Linked DNA regions of Homo sapiens: region 2 is linked to region 1. Evidence: promoter capture Hi-C in 16 types of primary human blood cells and fetal thymus (Javierre and others, 2016). All regions are on one chromosome and are shown on one strand. The core of a region is centred on a gene start or on the middle of the fragment in contact, and the rest is flanking DNA. Distances in the headings are between cores, read along the strand shown. Region 1 holds the start of ZNF222 (zinc finger protein 222). Region 2 has its middle 22 kb from the start of ZNF582.

Region 1 (6,701 bases), core at 3,188-5,687:
AAGTCCTGAATTAGGTACATTTTTCCAATGGAAAGATAACTTCCAAGTTTTTCCAATGGAAAGAATCTTGGAAAATATTAATTGATAAGTATGTACCTTTCAGTACACAGTAGTACATGGATATATTTAATATGCTGTCACGTATAAATAAGTCTTTAAAGAGAAGGGAGAGTATCCTTCGGGAGGTTTCTATTTTGAGAGCAGTTTCCCAATTCCTTTCAGGTCATAAAGTTCACCAGATGAAAATACAACACTATATCTCTATAAATATAAAGAAAGATTTCAGTAAAATCTATATTCCTTCACATTTTTGACAATTAAATTTGTATAAAGATGCAGAAATAGACACATTTTTTGAAGAAAAACATTTGGAAATATAAGCAACATTCAGCTCATAGATATAAAGAATTTCTCACAGACATAAACACGGTCCTTAAGGAAAGCTCAAGGGTAAGCCCCAGGGAAGGCATGTTTCTCAATGTGGTCATGAAAACCATGCTTGAAAGTTTCCATGGGATGTGGGTCAACTGCACACACAGAAAACCAACCATGTCAAGAGAACCTAAGAAAGTCAAAATTGGATAAGCAGCCCTGCACAGACAAAAAAAAAAAAAAAAAAAAAAACAAAACAAAACAAACCAACAACTGTCCTGCAACATATAGTCAGCCTCTATATCTGTGGGTTCAGCATACATGGATTCAACCAACAGTGCATCAGAAGTATTTGGAAAAAAAAAATTCCACAGAGTTCCACAAAGCAAAACTTGAATTTCTCACATTGAGTCCTATACATTGAATCCATGTGAATAAAGCGATGGGTAGGCATTGCGTTTGGTGTTATACCTAATATAGACATGACTTAAAGTATATGAAAGGGTGTGTGTAGGATATACACAAATACTTTACATGTAGAAGGGACTTGAGCATCCTTGGCTTTTGGTATCCACAAGGGGGTCCTGGAATCAAACCCCACGGCTACCAAGGCATGACTATATAACATTCACTCTTGTATGTCTGTTACTTATTAGCTATCTCCATGATTCTTACAGACAGTCAAGTCCTCTCATCCATTAATTCATTCATAAGAATACCAAATATTTACAGATAACTGCCATGTACCAGGAGTATTCTAGGTGCTGAAGATGCAGTCATAAAGAAACAGATAAATGCCTTCAAGAGATTACATTGCAAAGGGGAGGGGCGACTTATCAGTAGACAAAAATACATGAGACACAACACAGGCAGGCCAAGAAGAGTAAAGATAGGATAGTATTTTCAATAAGGTGCTTGGAGACGACCTCTCCCATGATATTAAAACTGAGCAGAGAGCTGCATAAACTAAAAGAGGGGTCAGTAAGTTTTGTGGGGACAGTGTATTCCAATCAGAGAGAAGAGCAAGTGAGGGCTCGGAGGCAGAAGCTTTTGTAGTAGAGAAAATAATCATTCCTGAAAGATGTCTACATCCAGTCCTCAGAACCTATGAACACGTTATGTTCCACAGCAAGGGAGATTAAAGCTACAGATGCCATTGAGGTCACTAGCCAGCTAAGCAGAAAGTGGGAGGGTCATCCTGAATCATCCAGGAGTGATGAATACTATCACAAGGGACCTGAAAGGTGAAAGAGGAAGGCATAAGAAGAGTGGCAGAGGAAGCATGACTATGGAAGAATGGTCAGGGATGCAATGTAGCTGCTTTTGAAGATGGAGGAAGGGAAACAAGAGCCACGGAGTGTGGACAGTGACTAGAGACTGGTAAACCAAAATGAAGTCTTCTCCCCATGAACATCCAGAAAGGAACAAAGCCCTAAGACCACTTGATTTTTGCCCAGTGAGATGTGTCAGACTTCAGGCCTACAGAAGAGAAAGATAAGTGTTTCTTGTTCAGTCTGCTGAGTTTTATGTCACCGGCCACAATAGGCAATACAATGTCCTTGGCAGGATAGAGAAACAGCAGGGAGGACAAGGTGCCTGGAAAAGATGGAGCAAGGGGGAGAGGACAGGAGATGCAGTCAGACAGTGTGGGATGAAGGGCAGATCACAGGGTCTACAAAAGCCACTTAAAGAGGTTGTAACACTAATAAAAACAAGAAGCCAGAAAGGCTTTGAGCTGAGGAATGGCAATGTGACTTCCGTTTCCTACGGATCACTTTGGCTACCGTAAGAACAGATGGCAGGGTGGGAAGGGTGGGAGCAGGGGCATCAGCAGGGAGAAGGCTGTAATAATCCAGGAAACAGGTTTGGCCATTTACCCCAAAATGCTGGAAATGGGCATGGACAGAAGTAACAGGAATCACATGCAGGGACACACAATTGCTTGGTTCTTACCCAAATTCCCTTCTCTTTGGCTTGTTGTCCCCATCACCCAAAACTTTTCTTCCCTTAGGAAGTGGAAAGTATCTCCATGGAATGGTTGATGCCCTGTGAACAGGCAAAGTCACATGCTTAATCCCAACATGTTCAAGGTAATATCATGTTGGTGCAAACGTAATTGCAGTGTACCATTACTTCCAATGACAAAAACCACAATTACTTTTGCACCAACCTAATAGCCAGGCAAAATTTACTGGAAATGTAGGTTCTCACTGCACACTCAAACTTGAAAACCCTAGGATTAAAAAACCACTCCTGGGGCCTGACATTCCATTACAGGGGGTGCCCGTCCTCACCCACTGAGAGCAGGTTCCTGAAGTTCTCAAGCATCACATCTCGGTACAGCTTCCTCTGGGCAGGGTCCAGCAGCCCCAGCTCCTCCTCAGTGAAGATCACAGCCACATCCTTGAAGGTCACTGCCTCCTACAACATCAAGCAGATGTCACCTCAATCTTACGGCCAAAGACTATTGGGAGACAGCAGCATTGCACTGGCACAAGGGACAAGTGTAAAGTTGTTTTGGATCTTGAGAGACATAGGTCAGCTTATAGATTTCCTACTTATTCTGTTTGTGTCCTGACAATGACTGATTAGGCAATAGGGGTTTGGAATGGAGACTGCACACACCAGTCAACAGGGTGTGTCCTGAATAAATAGTGGGTAAAGGACATTTACTGAGATGCTATCTCTAACTCCACTTCAGGAAAGCTTGCTGCAGAGTTAGAGTGATATAGTCCAAATGCTCTGTTTGAGTCGCGGGCCCTTTGACGAAAATGAGACTGAGGCAGGAGAATCACTTGAACCCGAGAGGCGGAGGTTACAGTGAGCCAAGATTGCACCACTGCACTCCAGCCTAAGCAACAAGAGCGAAACTCTGTAAAAAAAAAAATATATATATATATAGAGAGAGAGAGAGAAAGAAAATAGTAGATAAGGTTAAAAAAATTAAAAAGCAAAAAGCAAACAAACAAAAACTCCTATAGAAGTCCAAGCCCCTGAGCCTTGCCTCAAGGTGCCTTCAATCAAGTCCTAACTTACGTTCTCCACCTGTTCCCAGCTAGTACCTCTGCCTCAATGAGAATTGCATTCAAGAGATGATCAACTCAGGCTCTAACCTGGACTGCCTAGGTTTCAACTCCTGCTCCACCTGTGTCTCACGCCCATCTTTAAAATGAAAAAAGCAGCACCTCTCCACAGTGCCACTGTGAAGATCATGTATTTTGGGGTATAAAGTACTTGGAATAAAGTTACCAATTAAGGCTTAATCATTATCGACACCCATGCCCGAGGGACAAATCCTACACACTCTCGGTTGAGGTAAGCATCTCTGTCAAAGAAAAAAAGCCAAGGATCACTCACGTAGAGCTTTGCCATCAGTAGCCAAGAAGTCCCTTCCTGCAGCTCTTTTAGAAAGGTCGGGCTGGGGAAAAAGAAAGCTGTGAAACACCCTGACCGTTTTGCCGTCCCCCATAAAAGTTAAATGCTCCCCTCACTTTCCTAAAAAGAGGTCAGAAGGCGTCAGGGATCATCCAGCGTCCTGCAGGGATCAGGCAGAAGGGCCGGCGCCCCTGCAGCTGGAGCTCTGACCCCACCAGAGGACCTGACAGGCTTCGTGGGAAATTAACAAGAGACCACCAGACACCGAGTGACAGGGACTGCTTTTAAGGCTCTCATTTGTGTTACCTCTTTCAGGTCCCAAAATGAATCCATTAGGATGGTCCGAAAAGTCCCGTTACAAAACAAACAAACAAACGAACCAGCAATGGAAGATAAACGGACATTAAGTGACACTCCACACCACACTGAAAGGGGCTGCACACGTAGGGAGGAGGGAGGCGGACTAAGCGAGGTCAAAGTAGGGCACACCGGGCCGCGCCAATCCCACTCCCTGAGACCCTAGCAGAGCCCCCCGACGCCAGAAGGCTCAGCTGACTGGAACGGCAATCCCCGCCCGCGCCCCTCCAAACCTCTGCTCTCCGCCCAGGCTTCTTTTCTCCTGAATCGATCATTGGGTGGTTGCGAGCCCCAAGGAAAGGAGACTCGTTCGGAAGGACTCGCAAGATGTGGAAATGACTCAAACTACTGTGGTAAATGAAATAGCAACGTCACAGTTGGGGACCGGAAGTGCTCGAGCCTCCACAGAGCGTGTGGACTCCACTTCCCAGAATTCCCCGGACTCGCCCGTGTGAGACAAAGGGCCCGCGACTCAAACAGAGCATTTGGACTATATCACTCTAACTCTGCAGCAAGCTTTCCTGAAGTGGAGTTGGAGATAGCATTTCAGTAAATGTCCTTTACCCACTGCTTATTCGGGACACACCCTGTTGACTGGTGCGTGCAGTCTCCATTCCAAACCACTATTGCCATTCCTATCGCTTCCATAAAGCCTAAGAAATCAAATATTTTCTTTCTCTGCCTTCATCTAGCTAGAAATTTTCATGGGACACAATTTTGGGAAGTGAGACATTAGGAGAAGTGAGCTGTCCTCTCCTGACAAGAAATGTGCTTGGCAGGCTGTGAGTACACGAGGAGTTGAAAGAGTAAAAAGGTGATCGTCTCAGTGGACTGTAGGTATTGGCGAGGTTCTAATATTACTGATGCTAGCATGCTGGTGGGACCAAGGTGGAAATACAAGTCAAAGTTGTTGGAGAGTAGTGCTGCAAATTATTATGGAGGAATATTTGCTAGAAAATGACGAGGTCTAAAATATGACCATGGGAGAGAGTGTCCCTTGATATTTCACATGAATCTCAGGTGGATTTTTTCATTTCTGAGAAAAATGTTACTGTGATTAAGGATTGCATTGAATCTATAGATATAGGTATTGACAGCCTTGCAATATCAAGTCGCCCAATCCATTAATAATGGATATATCTCCATTTATTTGCGCCTTCTTTAATTTTTTTTTTTTTTTTTTTGAGACAGAGTCTCACTCTGTCGCCCAAGCTGGAGTGCAGTGGCACAATCTTGGCTCACTGCAACCTCCGCCTCCTGAGTTCAAGCGATTCTCCTGCCTCAGCCTCCCAAGTAGCTGGGATTACAGGCACGTACCACCATACCTGGCCAATTTTTGTATTTTTAGTGAAGACAGGGGTTTCACCAGGTTGGCCAGGCTGATCTCGAACTCCTGGCCTCAAGTTATTCGCCTGCCTGGGCCTCACAAAGTGCTGGGATTACAGGCATAAGCCACCATGCCTGGGGTGCCTTCTTTAATTTTCTTTAGTAAGATGTTGCAAAATTCAGTGTCCAAGTGTTTCTTGTCATTGGTTAAGACAGTTCCTAAGTAATTTATTTATTTAATGCTATTGCAAAGGGAACTATTTTCCTTTTCAGATTAATTGTTTTTGTATAGAAATACAACTGCTTCTTCTATGTAGATATTTTTCCTGCAACTTTCTGACTTTACTAGCTCTAAGAGTTTTTTTTTCTTGTGAATTCTTTAGAATTTTTATATATAAGAACATGTCATTAGCATATAGACAATTTTACCTCTGTTTCCAATTTTAATAGCTTTATTTTCTTTTTCTATCTAATTGTTCTGCATAGAACTTCCAATACTACATTGACTAAATGTGGGAAAAGTGGAGAAAACTCATTGTGTTCCTGATATTAGAAGAAAAGCTTTCAGTCCTTCACCATTGAGTATGACAATCAGCTCTGAGAATTTCCATATATAGCCTTTATTTTGCTGGGGTAGTTTATTCTCCTTCTAGTTATTTGGTATTTCAATCATGAAAAGGTGCTAGGTGCTGAATTTTGTGAAACTGAATGTTCTGCATTCACTGACATGATGTGATTTATACCTTCCACTCTGCTCATGTGGAGTATTACATTGATATTTGTATGTTGAACCATAATTATATTCGCCTTCCAGGAATAAAACAGTTCGGTCACTAAGTGTAATCCTTTTAATATGCTGCTGGATCTTGCTGGTATTTTGCTGGTGAATTCTTGCATCAGTATTCATAAGGGATATTGGTGTATAATTTTATTGAATTGTCTTTTTCTGGTTTGGCATCAGGGTAATACTGACCTGACAGAAGGATCAAAGAAGTGTTCTCTCTTCTTGCATTTTTGGGAAGAGGTTGAGCAGCTATGGTGTTAAATGTTCCTTAAATGTGTTGAAGCGTTTGCCAGTGAAGCCATCTGATCCTGGGCTTTTCTACATTGGGAGGTTTTGGATTACTGATTCAATCTCCTTACTAGTTAGAGGTCTACTCAGATTTTTTTGTCTTCATAATTCAGATTTGGTAAGGTGTATGCTTTAAGGAATTTGTCTATTTCATCTAGTTATACAAATTCTTGGCATACAATTGTATATAGTATTCTAT
Region 2 (6,517 bases), core at 32-2,531, about 12 Mb before region 1:
CATGTCTACATGATGGTGCCCTAATGAGGAGTCTGGATAACAAGGGTCAGATAGGCTTCCTTGGTTGGCCACACACTGTGCATACTGCCACACATCATTGTTGGGAGGAGTTAACACTGTCCATGACTCCACTGTGGGGGCATAAATGGAAGTCCTCCGAGACTCTGCCCCATGTCTTTTTCCTCGGCTGATTTTTAATGTGTATCCTTTCATGGCAATAAACTCTAACCATGAGTGTAACAGCTTTCAGTGAGTTCTGTGAATCCTTCTAGTGAATTATCAAACCTGAGGGTCATCTTGGGGACCTTTGGATTTGCAATTCGTGTCAGAATTCAGGGTGGTCTTGGGGACCCCCATACTTTGCAGCTGGCATCAGAATGATGGTGTTCTTCTGGACTATTCACTAACTTTGCAGGCATGAATACAATGATATGATGACTCCTGTGACGACTCCTAGTAAGTCCTTGAACCTGGGGGTGGTCTTGGGGACTCTCAACAGTTGACTAGTTTTAAAAATGGAATTAATGTTAATGAATAAATGACCAATGAATACACCCATTCAAACAATCAGACCACTATATAAGTCATCTTACAGTAAAGAAAACAATATCAAAGAGTCAAATAAAAAAAAAGTCATGAGAAACAGGATCCTGAATTTAAAAGGAAGCTTACCATAGACAAAGAGGAAAGACACACCTGTAATTTCTGAGCCCACAGGCATTTATAAAAGCAGATATAAATGGTGGGTGATCAGTACCCTTTTAGGAACTCAAACTCAAGGAGCCTCAATTTCTACATACGTATGGAACATTGGAAGAGAGCATCTTTCACATCTTAAAGGTGCTTTGCCCTCTAGACCTGGTATGCCTTTCATATACATGGCTTACCCCCGCTAGTTGGTTCTTCATACTCACCTGGCAATGGGCCTCTTATCTCTTCTTTTGCCATTATCCAAGGCAGTTTCCTTTTCTCCAACAGTGAAATCACAGATTTAGAAATGGAAAGTCCTGTGAATAGAAAGAGTTGGCTATGCTCTGGTTACTCAGGTATTGTGACAGATCAACACTGTAATCGAAACACAAGCCATTATAAAAACAAAAACATTAGAACATCTGGCAGATAGGATAAAGAAAGCTGCTCACTCCAATTTCCACATCTCATGTAAATTCTGAATCTCACCAAAGACTCCCAGTATAAAAACAAAAAAAGAAATACTCAAGACCAGTTGCTGAATTAAGGGCTTTAAGCACTTACCCAGCCAGACCAGGTTCTGATAATTCTCCAGCATCACAGTTGTGTACAAATCTCTCTGAGCAGGGTTCAGGAATCCCCACTCTTCCTTGGAGAAGTCAATGGCCACATCTTGGAATGTCACTCATCCCTGAAAATGATAAACACTTCCTTAGAAGAGCCCAAGGAAATAACTGGAAGTTGGGAGGAGCTGATAAGGACTCTTTGTCTTATAAAAGCAGCTTATTTAAGTTACTAAAGAGCAATACTGTGAAATAGTGTTTATTAAAATTTGGGTATAGAAAAATACTTAATAAGGGAAACATTCAAGATGAACAGGGTGATTCAAAAAACACTGAATAATTTAAGAAATGTATTGCTCAGAGATTGTGTATCCACGTATTCAAAACCAATTTGTAAAGGAACTAGCATAGTTGATTTTATAATCTTACATATTCATAGTATGACCACACATTGACTTTGTTGAAAGCCAGTCATGATCAATTCTACCATGGATCTGTAGTGTATCAGAATAACTTACAAATTACTTTTTTGCTGAAACAAAGTGTAGTCCTCTTTCTTTAAATCTGGATCGGACCTACAATTTGCTTTAATCAACAGAATATGACAGAACTAACACTAACTAGTTCCAGATGAAAGCTTCAGGAAGGCTTGGCATCTTCTGTTTTGCCCTCATAGGGGCTCATGACACATAAGAAAAGACAATGAGACGTTGCCAATGGAGAGTGAGACATTCTGAGACTACATCAAGTAAAGCTGAGTAACTCAGCTAGCAGCAAAGAACAGTGGCCCAGATACATGACTCCAGCAATTCTAGCTAAATATAAAATACATGAATGAAGAAGACATCTTGGGGATTCAGGCCCTGGCAGGCATCATAGGATCAGAGATTAATCATTCCCACCCTGTTGAGTTCAGTGTGAATTCCTCACCCATAGAATCATAGGAAATAAAGTAGTCTTTGCTCTAGCAGCTACATTTTAGGGTAGTAGATGTAATGGTCTGAAAACTGCAGCAGATGTGTTATTATTTCACCTTATTTGCCTCCATCAGGCTGTGCAACAGGAGCAAAGAATAAGGTTTCATCCTCAGCTACTTAGGAAGAAGGTGGGAAGAACTGAGGATGCCCAGCCTATGGTTAGTTTTCCTTTCCAATATCCTGGGACTTCATCAACTCATAATACAACTATGATTCCCAATCACTCCAATCATATACAGCTGCCCTGTGTTGTCCTTTCCAAATACACCCTTGCACCATCTGTAACAACAGTACATAGGTCAAAAGCTATTGAAACTTAATTGTATTAAACATGGGGCAGAGAAGGTTCCTCTTTTCTCACTTGAATGTGGGGTTTAAGAAATCTTAAGGATCTCTGGGTGCAGTGGCTCATGCCTATAATCCCAGTGTTCCTGGACCAAGCTGAGGGTCAGGCTGCTATTTATTGAGGCCCAATAACGAGATGCAGATTAACTGGGGAGGAAGGGAGTTTTTATTTCTGTAGCCGGTTACAGGGAGAAGGCCTGGAAATTACTGCCAGACCAACTCACAATTACAAAGTTTTCCAGAGCTTATATACCTTCTAAGCTATATGTCTATGTGTAGGTGTGCATTCATCTAAAGACAAGTGATTAACTTCTTTTAATCTATAACCAAGGTCTGAGTCTTGAAGACCTTCCTCAGGAGCCTCAGCAAATTTACTTAATCTAAATGGGTGTAGGGTGCTGGAGTGATTACCCTTATCTTGTCTCCTGCTAAACCACGGTGGTTTGGGGATTTCCTTCAGACCTCCAATAAATTTGTTTGTGGAGGCGTGGGGGGTTTCTTCAGACCCCCAGTAAAACTTGTTTCATCCTAAATGGGTCCAGTTAAGAACTCCTTCATTATTTTGTCATGCTTTAAGGCCCAGGAAAGGCCGAGGCAAAACTGTTGGTGGGCTTTTGTTACATTCCAGCCTCTTTGTAAGGGTAGTGGCTTTTAATATTTAACCACTCAGTCAGTACTGAAACAGCTGTTATGGACACCTGCATTTGGTGAGACATGGCCTGCCACACCAGCACTTTGGGAGGCCAAGGCAGGAGGACTGCTTCAGGCCAGGAGTTCAAGACAAGCCTGGGCAACACAGCAAGACTTAGTCTCTACAAAAAAATAAAAAAATTAGCCAGGCATGGTGGCACATGCCTATAGTCCCAGCTACTCAGGAGTCTGAGACAGGAGGACTGCTTGAATCTAGGAGGTTGAGGCTGCAGTAAGCCATGATCAATATGATGAATTCATGTCCAATAGGATCAATTTTCACAACGCAATACACCCATCAGCAGATCCCCGATCAAGAAACTGAATATTACCAACACCTCCAAGATTCCCCAAGATTGCTTCAAGACACACCTCTTGCTATCCTGAATTCTGTCACCATAAATGAGGCAGACTACAATATTTTAAATGAATATTTTTTCTTGATATTCTTCAAATGCCAGTATTTTCTTTCTTTTAAGAGACAGCAGTCTTGTTATGTTGCCCAGGCTGGAATGCAGTGGCTATTCACAGGTGTGATCGTGCTGCACTATGGTGCTGAAATGCTGGGCTGAAGTGATCCTCCTGCCTCAGCTTCCCAAGTTGCTGGGACTACAGGTGTGCGCCACTGTGCCCAGATGCCAGTATTTTTTCTACCACTACATCTTCTAAAAGATCACAAAAAGACATATACAGGTTGAATATCCCTAATCTGAAATGCTTCAAAATCCAAAACTTTTTAAGTGTTGATGTAATAGTCAAAAGAAATGCTCATGGAACATTTTGGATTTCAGATTTGGGTTGCGCAACCAGTAGGTATAATGCAAATATTCCAAAACAAAACAAAAAAAATCCAAAATCTGAAATACTTCTGGTCCCAGGAATTTTGGATAAGGGATACTCAGCCTACACAATAATATTCATAGCAGTTTTACTAATAATAGCCAAAAATCTAGAAACATCCCAAATGTCTATCAACAGGAAAATGAGTAAGTAGACTGTAATATATTAACACAATGGAATACTCAGCAAAACAACAACAAATAATGGACATTAATGAACATTAAAATCATTATGTTGAGTTAATGAAGCCAGACACACACCTACTGACTACTTGACTCCATTTACGTGAAGCCAAGCAAAACAAATCCACTGTCATCAAAACAAGAAATTAGTTTCCTCTGAGGGCCAGGGCAGGGAAAACTACATGAAAAATACTTGCAGAAGTGATGGAAATCTATCTTGATGGTGAAAATATCAACAGAGTTAAGGAAGCATTGGAAGTATGGAGGAAATGGGATAAGAACTGGTGGTTAAAAAAAGCCTTAAGCTCAAATACTTCACATCAAAATACAGAAACAATAAAGTGGTAAAAATGTTTTTTTCTGCATGGTTGTTATATGACGGTTGAAATTTTTTTAACAACTTTTCTTTTAAAATACATAAATATAATTTAACAACTTCATGAACAGCTTGAGTCATCATAACAAACAGAATGTGTAGGGAAAATACTGCCTGTTTCCCTAAAAGAAAATGTAAGTTTCCCCTTTGAGAAGAAAATCTATTTTTCAAACAAAATGTCTTGGTGACTACATTTAGCGGGCTAAGAATCAAATCTGGTTGTATTTGCACAAAATTTCAGAGACCATGCAAACACCCTGAAGAGAACCCTTTTTTGGGAAATATAGCCAGCTCATCCATCTTCTCCCTTGCAGCATACTTCTTGTTCCTCATTTACAGAAAGCCAATAGGTATTTTCCGGAATTCCACAGATGAAGCCTGTGACTTTAAGCTGCCCAACGTCAAACTGGAACCTGTGATCCACAACACTCTCTTTCACTAATGTCCTAGTAAATGGCCTGACTTTGTTAACCTGGACTTTCATGCTTAAGATATCAATCACATTCCCATTCCCCAAAATTTCCAAAGGCAGATTACCATTACTGAGTCTGAACCACTCATAAGCATTTTCTATGCTGCGTCCTCTCAGTCTGGAGCTGTAAAGGAATTCAAAGATGACTGAGTATTCACCCCTACTTCAGGAAGACGACAGTCCCCGGATAAAGGCTCTTGTCTTCTCCAGGGAATGTATCTCTGACCCACCACACAGTGCTTAAAAGAAGACTGGTGACAGTGGAGACTCAGATTAATTCATTCAGTGAATAAATGAACACTAAAGTACAGGACATGGACTCTGAGAAGAGAGGTTGCTATAGTCCCACGTGTTGCTGAATGAAAAGACCTGAGCCTTGTACCGGTGTCAGTCTTTACCACCCAAGTAAGCAAAATTAGATGTGCCCAGGACTTAAAACCTATGATGTTGCAGGACAAAAACTTACCTGAGACATGGCTAACGCGCACTGCGCTGGAACCGTGTCCTGAATAGTGACCAGGTCCTGGAAATGCAGAGCTAAGGAGAAGGAAGAAAACTTCAAAGACGAGATTCTCGAACCCACTGCCACCCATTTTCAACCATGTTCCTAACAAACTCCAAAAACGACAGATTTCACTGTCAAAAGAAAACAGTTTAGCGTGCAGCTCTGGTTCCTAAAAATGTAACTGGGCTTTTTTCAATGCCCCAGTGGCCTACTCTGGGATAGAACCATTCACACAAAGAGTAATTTTAATAATGTCCTCTGTGTACACAAACGCCAACACACTGATCACGCGAGCATTCTTGTAAGGCACCCGCCACCTCCAAACTCAGGCCCGGACGCCAGCGCTGACCTGAACGGATCCCTGGGCCTCTGGCCATTCAGCCGCCCACTCCTCCCCGGAGCGCCTCTGAGACGGACCGCCCCGACGCAACACAAACCTCATAATGGCCCAGCCTCCGCGTGGCGCTGGGAAAAATACTGCCCAAGAAAGGAGAAACGGCGACGCTGCCCACCCAGGTCTCCCTGGAGCCCGCCGACCTGAAGCAGCGGCCGCACCGCGTATGCGCCCGGGTGGTTTCTGGGAGTAGGCGAGGACTCGCAGTGCGCATGTGCAGCCCCCACGGCCCCGCTCCCAGTGACCGGAATGCAGAGGCGTACATGGCTAAGAGACGAGCTACCTGGGACACAAAGTACGCGTGCGTATTGACGCCCCGTAGGGCCTCGACGCGGAGCCTGGTGGAGAGGGTTCCGCTGGTGACTGAGTACGTAGGCGTGAGTTCGGCCGTGGGGGCGTGGCTTTGTGCCCGTTGGCGGTGTTGAGAACGCTGCGCCTGCGCAGAGAATCAAGCGGTTGCCTTCTGAGGGCTGAAGCGTATAT

The links. Contacts are between HindIII fragments. The CHiCAGO score rates a contact against its expected background, and 5 or more counts as called.
Region 2: a fragment that was not itself captured here is called in contact with the fragment with the promoter of ZNF222 in region 1 in 1 of 17 cell types (total CD4 T cells); the score reaches 6.1 in total CD4 T cells.

Annotation. Positions count from the first base shown.
Region 1 is chr19:44,023,115-44,029,815 of GRCh38, reverse strand. It overlaps ZNF222 (zinc finger protein 222), which reads right to left and starts at 4,437. Exons shown (of 4, transcript NM_001129996.2): 1 at 4,338-4,437; 2 at 2,667-2,793; 3 at 2,326-2,418. The coding sequence starts at 4,379. It overlaps ZNF222-DT (ZNF222 divergent transcript), which reads left to right and starts at 4,534. Exons shown (of 3, transcript NR_184028.1): 1 at 4,534-4,701; 2 at 4,797-4,918; 3 at 5,917-6,701. RefSeq lists enhancers at 4,142-4,191, 4,422-4,471. The HindIII fragment of the contact is 1,542 bases long and covers 3,081-4,622 here.
Region 2 is chr19:56,368,021-56,374,537 of GRCh38, reverse strand. It overlaps a transcript of ZSCAN5A not described here and the pseudogene ZNF542P. Among named protein-coding and RNA genes, the nearest start is that of ZNF582, 22 kb to the left of the region's middle. RefSeq lists enhancers at 6,009-6,138, 6,184-6,478. The HindIII fragment of the contact is 1,223 bases long and covers 670-1,892 here.